Linked DNA regions of Homo sapiens: region 1 is linked to region 2. Evidence: promoter capture Hi-C in 16 types of primary human blood cells and fetal thymus (Javierre and others, 2016). All regions are on one chromosome and are shown on one strand. Each heading gives the region's core, a stretch centred on a gene start or on the middle of the fragment in contact. The rest is flanking DNA. Distances are from core to core; before and after follow the strand shown.

Evidence for each region. The method cuts DNA at HindIII sites, captures the fragments that hold promoters and counts their contacts. A CHiCAGO score of 5 or more calls a contact.
Region 1: a contact is called between a fragment that was not itself captured here and the fragment with the promoter of POLD4 in region 2, in 2 of 17 cell types (total CD4 T cells and non-activated CD4 T cells). The highest score is 6.1, in total CD4 T cells.

What each region holds. Positions count from the first base shown.
Region 1 is chr11:67,248,149-67,254,452 of GRCh38, reverse strand. KDM2A (lysine demethylase 2A) reads right to left here. Exons shown (of 21, transcript NM_012308.3): 16 at 6,083-6,172; 17 at 3,655-4,367; 18 at 1,596-1,759; 19 at 842-1,000; 20 at 35-250. Among named protein-coding and RNA genes, the nearest start is that of GRK2, 15 kb to the left of the region's middle. RefSeq lists enhancers at 1-298, 1-954. The HindIII fragment of the contact is 3,131 bases long and covers 3,086-6,216 here.
Region 2 is chr11:67,351,118-67,356,960 of GRCh38, reverse strand. POLD4 (DNA polymerase delta 4, accessory subunit) reads left to right here and starts at 3,415. Exons shown (of 4, transcript NM_021173.5): 1 at 3,415-3,658; 2 at 3,884-3,973; 3 at 4,159-4,270; 4 at 4,942-5,843. The coding sequence starts at 3,562. The coding sequence ends at 4,966. The region is part of intron 2 of LOC100130987 (a long non-coding RNA gene); the gene reads right to left. RefSeq lists a silencer at 3,098-3,347 and enhancers at 3,528-3,577, 3,571-4,152, 4,153-4,735. The HindIII fragment of the contact is 23,887 bases long and covers 1-5,843 here.

The DNA.
Region 1 (6,304 bases), core at 3,402-5,901, 100 kb after region 2:
GCACCGCTGATTATGAACAACTGTAGCGGCATACCTGCCATATTGAGCTCTGTGAGAGAGTAGCGAGTGGAAGACCCGACAGCAGTGAGTAGATTGGAGGACTGATCTGTAAGGTGGCTGCAGTGACTGAGGTCGAGTCGAGACAGGAGGGGCATGTGGCGAATTATGAGGCGAAGCGTGGCATCTGTGATGTCAAGGCCTGCCAGCCGGAAGTCGGTCATGTTCCGGAGCTTGCTGCGATTGTCCTGACCTGTACAGGCAAGAGAAGAGCCTAGATCAAAACTCTCAATTCTCTAATCCAGCTTCAAGGCTCCAGGCAGCAACAGCTACTTGCTGGCCAGGCCCCCTTGAAGGGGTTAAGTAGAACTGCCCACACCCAGCCATGCCTTCAGGGTGTGAGCACTGGGTGTAGGCAGTTTCTAGGAAACCAGACAAGTTTTCTTTCTTCTCAAGCTGCTAGATTATGCCTCATGCACACAGCAAAAGGCTATGTGCAGAATGCTCCTCCCCTTCCAATACCACCACACTTTTCTAGACCATCATGCAAATAGCTTTTGACTCCACCTCCACCATAAAGCCTTCTCAGACTTTTTCAGGCTTACACTCTCTGGGCCCCAAACTCCACCAACTCACAAAATGGACTTACTCCATTGTTTGTAGGTAGTTATCTGCTTATAGTTACCCTATTCTTGTACACAGTCCATCATTCTGTTTTCATTTTGTGCTCTTCTATTCTTCCACAGCGTCATATCTGAGACTACCTTAGCTTCTGAAGACGAGGTCTGTTTGGAAGACAAAGCTACCCCAAGACAAGCACAGAGAAGTCAGGTCCAGAGCATACCTGGTTTATCAGCCGGTGGAGTAAGCAAGTCCCGAATTTGAGGGTCCTTGATTCCTACTGCCCACCGAAGATCAAGGGTCCTGAGAAGGGGGCAGCTGGAGGTGCTGAGGGCAGAGACTGCAGACCAGGAGCAGCCTGCTAGGAGGAGGTCTTTCAGTCCTGCAATGGATGGAATGAGACATGTAATAATACACTGTTTCCCAGCATACTCAGAGCCGTAACGATCTGAGCAAAGTGAACAAACTTCCAGTCTAATAGGAGAGAAGGACTATGCCTAATCTTTTAGTCATCCAGCTCAAAGATTTCCATGGTATCCTATACTACATCTTCTAGCTTTAGTGGTAAATTGATTGCTTAGTTCCCACCAGAGCAATACAAGAAGGAGTGACTTCCTGTCTTTCTAAGAGCTCAAAATGCTGAAGAGAACAAGGGCTTATAAGGAGCTGACCAAAGTAACATCTGACTCAAATTTCCTCTTTAGTGGTTATGCTGAGGAGAACTGCAGGGCTGGCAGCAACACTGATTCCGTTCTCTTTGCTGTCCATTGCAGTGATTGGCCTGCCAGTCCAGAGTGCTGCCTGGGAGACTGACACTTAAGATGGCCCTGGGTAAACCTCTTGCTAAGCAACAATGGCATGGGACTGCTGCCCTACACTGCCCTCCAGTGATGCTAAGAAGCACTGCCAATAATGCAACTTTTCTTGCCCGCTTCTTCTGGGCCCCTGGAAAGACAGCGGCAGGGCTGCTCACTTACCTGGCAGCCTATTGACGAGCCATGTCAGTTGCTTTTTAGAGATGTTGGTCCAACTGAGGTCAAGGCTGACTGGCTGCCTCTTGATGATGCCACTGAGGGCCTGGGGCACAATGGCCTTACACCTACTCAAGTCAATTTTTGTCCAAAGTCTCTTGTCGCAGCACCTGTGATAGAAGGGAAGAGAACTCGCCTTCATTAACTTGATCAGTGGAGCTCCCATCACAGGCTGCTTATGGCTTCTGGGAAAAGCAGAGTACCTGGAGGCTCGTTCTTCTACAAGTGTACAGGGATCACACCTTATCATTTTTTGCCTCACAGAATAGGCAAAAAATTGCCTTGAACTCTACAACAACTAGACGCTTTGCAAACCTACATGTTGATAGTATATAACTTGACCACTTTACCCTGATTTATTCTGGAGTGTTTGAGAACACAACAGTTGTTAGGGACCCATAGCAAGCAACAGTCTATAGCCCCTTCATCTGTATTAAAATGGCATGGTTCCTGCTGAAGTGTATATAAGGGAGCCTCTTGAAGTTTCTAGACTTCTTACTGTCTAAAGCTAAGAAGGCCTGCTCCGTTCCCTCCCTTGTCAATCACTCGCAGCTGCCTGAAATGCAGGGTGCTACTCAGCACATCCACAATTCACCCTGCCTTCAGCCCATTACTGTATCAGGTCAAAAGAGGCTCTTTATCAGGCTTACAGAGTCCTCTCTCACCCTCAAGTTCTGCCTCAGTGCTATCCTGACATTTTCTAGCCAGGCCAGACCAGAACTGAAAGGGATAGGCCTGGCTTTCCACTGCAGTCTACAAATCTACAGGCCACAAACCACAACATGCTGGCTTCAATTTAATATTTTATAGCCCCTGCCCCCCAGCCTGGTTGGCAGGGGAAGAGAGACAGCACATAACGGGAATCTGATGTGCCTTGCCCTGAAAACCAAGAGGTAGAGCCAAGCAGTCCTATTAGCCCTAGACAGAGAAATATTAAGGAGAATTTAGATACACTATACATTAATTCAGATTTGGGAAATAAACTCATGTTTGCAAAGAATAGGGTCTATTTAGAGACTGAAACAATTTTACCAGTGGCACATGAAGCTTCTATGGCAGAAGCAAGCTGCTGACAATACAGCAGATTTTGCTGCTCTAAACTCGAGCATGCATCAGAGTCCCCTGGAGGAGCGCTTGTTAAAGCAGACTGCTGGGCCCACCCAAGAGGTTCTGATTTAAGAGGCCTATGAGGGTCCTGACAGTTGACATTTCTAAAAAGTTCCTGAGTGAATGCCATTGGTCAGGACACCACACTACTGTAATAGGATGTGTGTGACCCAGATAAAAAGGATATATCCTAGAGTAAATATATACCAGAGTTTAAGGAAAAACCAACAATGCCCAATGGGAAGCTCCTTGTTCATCATCACTAGCAATTTTTTCCCCCAAGTGTCTGTCCAACTTAAGAAGAAATGGTAGCTCTCATTAAGGAAGCTTCAAAACTGGACTCTGCTTGCTGGAAGAGGGAATTCTGATCCAGGTTTGGGGGGATGAGCATTAAAACTGAAGAAAAATGTTAAGCACCTTCAAATTCATCTTGAAAAGCATGCCCACTTCTCTCACTGAATGGAGAGGTAATTGAGTCAGGGGCTTAAGTGAGGTTATCTGTGTTATCAGCACCAGAAGAGTGACTAGAACATCATAGGCTCTCAACCAACATGTGATGAGTTCAGCTGACTTGAGGAGGAAATTTTCAGCCCGCAAGACTCTCAAGTTTTATCACAGACTACAAATCTATCCCGCAAATCAGTCTCCCTCCCCATAACAATGAGACATGGGAAAGTATAGAGCAGGGCCAGGAGGCAAATGGCCAGTTCCCTAATGACATCTGCGGGTACAACAGGCTACATCTTTAAACAGGACCCAAAGTTTGGGAAAAAGGGTCAATTCACTCCTCATAAGACCCCACAGGCTTTCAGATGCCAAGGTGCATGCTGTTCTCATATGGAAAACCTGCCACCTACTCCCATACCCCTAATTCCTGACCCCCTGAATCCCTGCTCACCATTTATACCACGTCTTGCACACTCGCATACATTCACAAAGTTCTCTGCGGCTGAGGTAGCGGAAGACAGACATCCAGACCTCCCGCTGCATCCAGCTTTCGTCTCCATCCTGAGCCCAACTGCCCCGGCCATTCAGCCTGGCTGCACCCCCCTCCTCTGCACTGTCATCTTCCTCCTCCTCCTCCTCCTCTTCCTCCTCCTCTCCCCCCAGCCCCTCCTCATCCCCACGCTGGGGGGTTCGGGCTGGGCAGTGCTGCACTAGCACACGGGGGGAATGGCGAAGGTTGGCAGAGGAGGCCGTGATGGCCTGCAGCTTGGGCACAATGGATGTCCCGTGGAGCTCTTTGGTGGGCCTCTGTAGCGTGACAGTGAGGTACGATCCCCGGATCTTGGCTTTCTCAACTTCAGACAGCTCCTTTTTGCCGCTGGGATTGTTCTCCTTTTCCCGTACCATGGTGCGCTCTGTGGCCTGCAGCCGCAGCAACTGCCGCCGTTTGAAGCGCTCATCGCGGCTGGCACTGTGGTGGTCGCTGGGGCCAGCCCCAGGGGATGACCGAGTCACCATACCCCGGGGGGAAACCGGGTCATGGATGAGCTGCAGCATGGAAGTGGGTGAATGAGGCGGGGGCGTGAGAGGCTCATCGCAGCTCCGCAGGGGCCGCAGGACTTTGGCTTGCACAGCTTCTTCGTCACTCTCTTCCATTTTCCGCTTCTGCAAAACAGGCCCAGAAAAGCAACATCAGTGCTTCCTTTCTTCCAAACCCTCTGAACCGACAGGGTGGACCTCCCTTGCTCTCAGGGGACCAGAGAGAAGAAAGGTCACGTTGGAGAGGGGGTCATTCCCTCAGAGTCGGCCCAGGCTGGTCTCCAACTCCTGGGCTCAAGTGATCCACCTGCCTTGGCCTCCCAAAGTGCTGGAATTATAGGTGTGAGCCACTGCACCTGGCCTGACCATTTTTAATTGCGTCTCTGACTTACCTCTTTCACCCAAGAGACGTATTTCTGTTTCATGGTGGAAAAAGCCCACATATACCATTTGAACTAAGATCCTGAGTCTGACAATGGTAAACACCATTGGCTTCTAGCTCTACCACAGTCTAAGTTTGACTCCACCAGGCTGCGTCTTCCACTCCAACCCCCACGTGAATAATAAAGCAGATAACAAGAACCTCTCTGAGAAACTGGGTTGCTACAGAGAGATTCACTCAGGATTATGGTGAGGAATCCCACAAGAGCCCCCAACTTTATCTGTGGCATTTGTGCTCTCTAGATACTTGTCTTTTCCTGGAGCCCACTATGACTATGCTATGACAAAGCCCAGTAAACATGTTCCACTAGGAACCGTATCAGTAGTTCAGGTTTTTTGCAAGGAGACATTTTATGTCTCTAAGCAACAACCCTGTTCTCTGCTCCTTTTCCTCCTTACATTTTTTTATCATTATGGTTGGAAGAAAATGACCACCTTTTGGGTGCTACCTTTTCCAATGTATTAGAAGGTAATACTAAAACACAGCCATCTGCCAACAACACATCTGCTACAGCAGAGATGCAAACACTCAACATCACTAATGAAGACACATGTAAAGGTCACTAGTGCAAGAACTAAGGAGAACTTTGGCCCTAGTCAACTTCAAAAATCCTTGCCCTCAAAGACAAATAGATTGAAAAATTCAACTATCTTAGTATCCAAGTGGGAAGAAATAAAAAGTAAGAAAATTCCTTTCTGCCCCCTTCCCTGCTCCCGTGCAAGGGTCCTTGAAAGACTGGCACTTGGAAAGCCATCTCCTCCTGTAGGTGTCCACAGCTGGTCTTGCCTTGTCAGCCTGAGTAAGTACAGTCCTTTTGGCCCTTTGACATTATTGGCAACCACTGGTCAGCAACCTCAGCTCCTCTGGGCCAAGGTCATAGCACTGGTCCTCTCTGGGGGAGGGGCTGCCTCCACATGACACATTTGGGCATGTGGGATGGGCAGGGCAGGGCTTTCTGCCAGGCCACAAAAGTGAAGATGACAAAAATGTGAACCTGCTTAACTGGAAGCTCAAGTACACTGCTGCACTCACTGGCTGCCTCAGGCCACTGCCTCTCCTCTAGTTAACATTCCTCAGGAGGGATCATACTCACCTAATTTCTCTCCTCAAATAGCCCAGCCGTGGTTCCTCTCTTTGTAGGGCCCCAGAGTATAAAAGGACCTTAGGAATTTGCAGATCCCAAGTGGAACAACATTTAGTAATACAAAACACAATGCTACAAACTCTAACAAAGAAAATACTAAAAATTAACCAAAGGAAAAACATACCAAACCAAACAAAAATAATCTCCTAGGTCAGAGAAACTGTGTGAACACTAATGCAAAGGCAAACGTGTAGCAATCCCCCACATTTGATGCCTCCTTTCTGTCACAGTGCAAATCTGATAAGGTTCCTTTACCTGGGCTTTCTCCGAGCTGTCCTCCTGGTAGCACTTTGGACATTCCCAGCAATTTGGCAATTCTTCGTTAAGCAACCCCTCTCCGTCCATCTATAGGAAGACAGAGATGTTTTTAAAAGCCTGTCTCTCAAGCTTCCTTTATCCAACAATAACACAGTTGGGAAGAGTTACTCATTTCTCAACAACATTGGTCCATAAAGGGAGAAAAACTGTGAGCAATCC
Region 2 (5,843 bases), core at 2,166-4,665:
AGGTGAAAGAGGAGGTGACTAGAGAAGAAGGTGTGGAGGGTGGTAGGAGCAGGACAGAAGATGCAGTGGTAGAAAAACCCAGAGACCCCATCCTTTCCACTCAAGCTGCTGCGATGGAAGCACATTAGGCCAGAGAACCTGGACCAGGGGAAGAGGGAGTGTCTGGGAAGGCAGTGAGGGACTAGGAAGGACTGCCTGAAAGAATTCTGGCCCACAGGGTGAGGAATGGGGCCCACGGTGTGTGAGTATGTTGGGGGCCGGGGCCAGGGGTATTCTGGCTGCCCAGAATCTCCTGAGTGGGACTGACTTTCAGCTCAGGGTGGGTGGCAGGGCCCAAGGGCCTGAGGAAGGGGGGTACTGGCGAGAGGGAAGAAGAGCTGGATCCACCCCACAGCCCACTGGGTCCCAGGCAGCTGCTCCCCTCTCTCCACCTGCCTCCAGCTTCCCAGCTCTACCTGGCTCTCCCCACAAACCTCATGGTGAGGTGGGGGAAGGGAATGCAGGTGCAGTGCTGAGGCCCCCATTCTACCACATTGTCTGAGCTAAGCCAGACCTAATCCTTCCCTTGAGTGCAGTCAGCGGTGGGCCTCAGCCCCTGGGAAGGTGCCGGGTTCCTGTTTCAGTTCTTTTCTCTCCTGGACCCCCAGGACTCTGGGCTTGGCCCTGAAGCAAGGGTCTTGGGTATTGTTACCAGGCTGAGGTGCAAAGGTCACTCCTACTAGTCTCATCACCAGCCTCTGGGTGTCGGGGCTGACACAAGGGTCTCAGGACATTCCCCCAGGGAGAGAGAACTCAGCACCCAACCCAGAACTCTGGCCTGGCCATCCAGTCTGAAGCCTGAACAGGCTCCAAGACAGCAGTTTAGGGAATGAGGCCAGGATGCTGCCTGAGTAGGTGAAGGGGTTCTAGGCAAGAAGGTACAGAAGGTGGATGGGGTTGGACAGCAAAGAAGGAAAAGACCTGAGGACAGGAAGGTCAAGGTCCAGCCTAGTCCTCAGCGCACCTTAGGGATTCAGGTGCTGAGTCAGGGCATGCCAGTTGGACAGGGATGGTTCCAAAATCCCTGGGTGCCAACTCTTTCCTAGGGGCTCCACCCTACTGCCATCTAAGAGAGAGCAGCAATGCTGCCTGCAGAGAGTTCCCTCAACTCCAAGGCAGAAAGCCAGGCCTAGGGTGCCTGCACTTGAGCTGACCACTCTGAATCTTTTTCTTGGGTGTGGGGGTAGCTGAAGCCTGAGGGAGACATCTTCCAGCCTGGGTTGGGGCCTGTGCCAGGCAAAGCTGGGGAAGCTGGCAGGGACAGCCCAGCCAACATCTACAGAGCAGCTCAGGATGCCAGAGGCTGCCCAAGGAGAAAAGGCAATAGGCCCAGGCGGTGGTAGGAGCTACTGTGGCTGCCCAGCGGCACACCCCATTTCACGCTCCCTGGGCGGTGGCAGGGCCCCACGGCTATCAGCTTTCAGGGGTGGGAGGGACTGGGAATGAGGAGGGGTCTGCCCCACCCATGGCTCCCTACTCCCTCAGGGCTTGGTGGACTCAGGAGGTGGGTGCCACACACCTCTGGAAACAGCCCAGGAACCCTTGCCAAGACCCTCTGGGGAGGGGTAGTCAATCCCCCAGAGCCTAGACGCCATCCCTACCTAGCATGCTCAGCACCTGACTGGACTCAGCACCTAGGCCCTTCCCAGCCCTGGTAGACAGGGCCTCCCTGCTTCCATCACTAACTCCGCAGGGACACTGTCTCCCTGAATGTGGGCCCCACTTAGTCCGCAAGGCAGATGGGGGGATTAGACTAGGCCCAGCCCAAACAATACAGCAGAAAGGGCCCTCCAGCTCCATGCAGTGCCCCCACAAGCTCCCTCCTCTAGGACGCCGATGGGGAGAGCCAGGCAGGACGTGGACCCTGAAGACATGGCCTGCTCCTCTGCCTCCCCTCTGGTGGTCTCCTTTCCAGAGCAGCTTCCTCCCTTGTGCCCACGTGTACCAGTGGCTTAGCCCTCTTCCAGTGCAGAACACCCAGACCCCAGAGCAGGGAAAGGAGGAGGCAGAGGCCTCTGAGCAGGCAGCAGCCCAGGAGTCTGTGCCCCACCCTCCCAGTATCCCTGGAAGGAAGAACCGGATGGGATCTCTGGAGGGTGATTAGAGCTGGGCTGGTCCCTGTGCTGGTTCCCAGACTCCCACTGGCCAGTACTTTTGCCTCCTGCCAGGAAGTTGGTGAGGGGGAGGCAGCAGTATGGGTGAGTCAGTGATGACAGGAGCCCAAGGGACAAAGGTCATGGGTGGAGAATTGAGAGACATTGTTTACAGCAGTCCACCTCCTCCAGGAGGCCTTCCAATGCTAATCATCCCTGTGGTCCTAACCAATCTCTGACCCACCCTTTCCCTCTTCTGGTAGGAATTATAGCCTCTCACTGACAACTGTGCATCTGTCTGCCTTGTGACAGTGAGCTCCTGGGGTGCAAGAGAGACTGTGGTTTGATTGGGGCCCTACAATGCCTGTGACTATCAGCAGTGATAATCATTTAGCTATACTTCCTACTTTCAAAAACTTTTTGACATCTATTTTAATTAACATGTGGGAAAGTGCTTAGAACAGTACTTGGCACATGGTACGTGCAATGAGTGTTAGGTTTATTATTAATATTTTCTGCTCAGACTCACATTATTGTGAGAGACAGGGCAGATTTTGCCAGTGAAGAACTAGGGATCCAAACACATTGTGGTGGGGGGACCAGACCCTTGCTCTGCCTTCCTACTCAGTATGGAATCTTCCTGACTGGTGGGGCGGGCCGGACACGACTTGGGACCCCAGGAGAGTCAAAACGGCAAACACTTACTCGGACTAAGAGTGGGCAGCATCTTTGGGCACAGACTGTGAGAAAGGAGGTTTCAGAACCCATGGGCTTCTCCAGCCAGGTCTCCTGGGGCCAGTGGGGGTTGGGTGGGAGCCGGGAAGGGGCCTGGATTAGCCCAAACTCTCTTCAGACCTCCAGACCTGCCCCCACAAGGCGGGGCGGGCCAAAGGACCGAGTGAAGGCTCCAGCTGGACTCTAGGGAGTTACAAACTGGCCACGGGGATTAGCGAAGCTGAAAAGAACATTTGCCTAGGAAGGGAAAACGGGAAGTGAGAGGCTGAAGATAACTCTCCTGAAGTCTCTCGGGACCCACAGCAGACCAATGGGGGCCGGGGAAGGTGGTGAAGTCGGGGCATCCCGACAGGTCCCCCGCCCCAGCCTGCCCCTCCTCCCGCGGCCCACAGCTGAGGCACCGCCCCGCCCCTCACCCTACACTGCCTACCATTGGCTAGCGCCAGGGCCCCGCCCCGCATAGGCGGCCTGCCATTGGCTGAAGTCTTTCCTGTTTGCGTGCTTTTGGGGGTGGGGGAGGCGTCCCTCCCTGGACCCCGGCGACTTCCTCTCTCGGTTTGTCTGGGTCATCTTGTCTGCCCGCCGCTGGCCTGGCCCCGTCTGTCTCTCTCAGCAGCTGTCTTTCTCGCGCCCACTGGCCGGTCTCTCCTCTTCCCCGCAGTTGCCTCCTTCTCTGCCTGCCTGGGTGGCCGCCATGGGCCGGAAGCGGCTCATCACTGATTCCTACCCGGTTGTGAAGAGGAGGGAGGGGCCCGCTGGGCACAGCAAGGGGGAGCTGGCACCCGAGCTAGGTCTCTGAGGTGTGAGGGAGGCAGGAGGAGTGGACACGGAGGGGCCTAGAGGAGGCCCCTAGAGGGGCGGAGGGGCCGATGGAAAGGGAAAGGTGGCCTGTCCTCCCCTCCCGACACCAGGTCTAGCTGCGGGGTGGCAGAGGCAAAGCGGTGGTGAGGAAGGCTGGGAGGTGAGGGGCAGGAGACTGAAGCCAACCTCGTACTGAAGAGCAGCTGTCATTGCAGGGGAGGAGCCCCAGCCCCGCGACGAGGAGGAAGCGGAGCTGGAGCTGCTGAGGCAGTTTGACCTGGCCTGGCAGTACGGGCCCTGCACCGGTGAGAACCCACCCAGCCCCACGGAGGCGCCTCTCCCAGCCAGTCACCCACACGTCTCTGAAGTCACCCAAGCGCTTGCGTGACTCTGACCCTCAGGAACTGTCTCCCCCCAACACACACATTCTCCAGCTCAGACTCTACCCCACCCCCCACAAGTCTCCAGAGTCTTCTTCCCACCCTGGCAGGGATCACACGGCTGCAGCGCTGGTGTCGGGCCAAGCAGATGGGCTTGGAGCCTCCCCCAGAGGTGTGGCAGGTGCTGAAGACCCACCCCGGAGACCCCCGCTTCCAGTGCAGGTCAGAGACAGGCCGGGAGGGCTTTCAGGGGAGCCAGGGCCTTCTCCAGGCACTGTCACCCTGCTGTCCTGACCTGAGGGAGAAATGGATGGAGGGTTGGAAGGCCTTGCTGAACAGGCAAGAAGATTCTATGAGGTGCCTGGCTCAGGAGGACACGCCACTATAATAATTCTTTTTTTTTGAGACAGAGTCTTGCTCTGTTGCCCAGGCTGGAGTGCAGTGGCGCGATCTCGGCTCACTGCAAACTCCGCCTCTCGGGTTCACGCCATTCTCCTGTCTCAGCCTCCCAAGTAGCTGGGACTACAGGCGCCCGCCAACACGCCCGGCTAATTTTTTCTATTTTTAGTAGAGACAGGGTTTCACCGTGTTAGCCAGGATGGTCTTGATCTCCTGACCTCGTGATCCCACCCACCTCAGCCTCCCAAAGTGCTGGGATTACAGGCGTGAGCCACCACACCCGGCCAATAATTCTTACCTCTACAAGCTAGTGGGGGGCAAAGGTACACCCAGGACCCAAGGAACTATCTATTTAGAACTGAGGGGTTTCCCAAGGACTATGGGCATGGCCAAGAATAAGCTGGTGAAATCAGATCCAGGGACTCAACAACTGATTCTCTGTTTCTCTCTCTCTCTCTCTGGGGTATCCCTCCCTCCCACCCCATCTTCCACAGTCTCTGGCATCTCTATCCCCTATGAGGCACCACGTAAGACCTCCTGCCCTTAGCTCTCTTGCTCACCACCCAAGAACCTCAGGACAGAAGCGAGAGCCCATTGCTCCTGCTCAGCTCAGCCCGGCTGCGGAGGAACCCTTGGCAGGCAGAACCTGGAGGTGTCAGAGGCTCAACTCCTCCATCTAACCAGCAGGCTCCCAGAGTCCCCGGAAGAGCCTGCGCAGCTGAAGCAGAGTGCTTCTAGATGGAGAGTGGTCACTGGGGAAAAGGACCTGGCCATCACCTTCCAATACCTGCTGCCTGTCTCCCTGACCCATGATCTGGCAAGTTAGGCACAGTCAGACATGGACAGTTGATCCATGAGGAAAAGATGCTCTCCCACCTAAGGCCAGGAATCTGAGAGCAGGACTGGCTGAGCTCCCAGGGCAAGGGGTTCACTAATGCTTATCAATAAAGAATATTGAGCCTGGAATCCTGACCTTCAGTCCTTTACTGTGGCCCTGCTTTGACTGGCAGTCCCTAGCAAGTTAGGAGATGAGAGAGGCACCACTACAGCTCTTTTCCTTCAAGAAAGTCCTAGGCCGAAGAGGGAGGAGACAGTCATCTTGAGACGGATCAAGTCCTCGGAAGAGCTGAGCGACCTCTGGTGCCCCCTGGTGGCCCACAGGGAAACTACTCATGACTCACCTTCTGGAGCAGCCAGGGAAAACCTACCTGACTAGCCAGCCACCTGCCTTGCTAAGCGGTGCCCACCTCACAAACATGGGTGCTTTGCCAGAGAAGGACCCCTGGGGTCCATAGCTCATGAAGTCCAAACATATCTATACATTCCCAGCAAGCACCTCTGGCTTCCCACATCGGGGGCCACCTTGATCCAAAGCAGGGCTGGCGAGGGTCTCAAC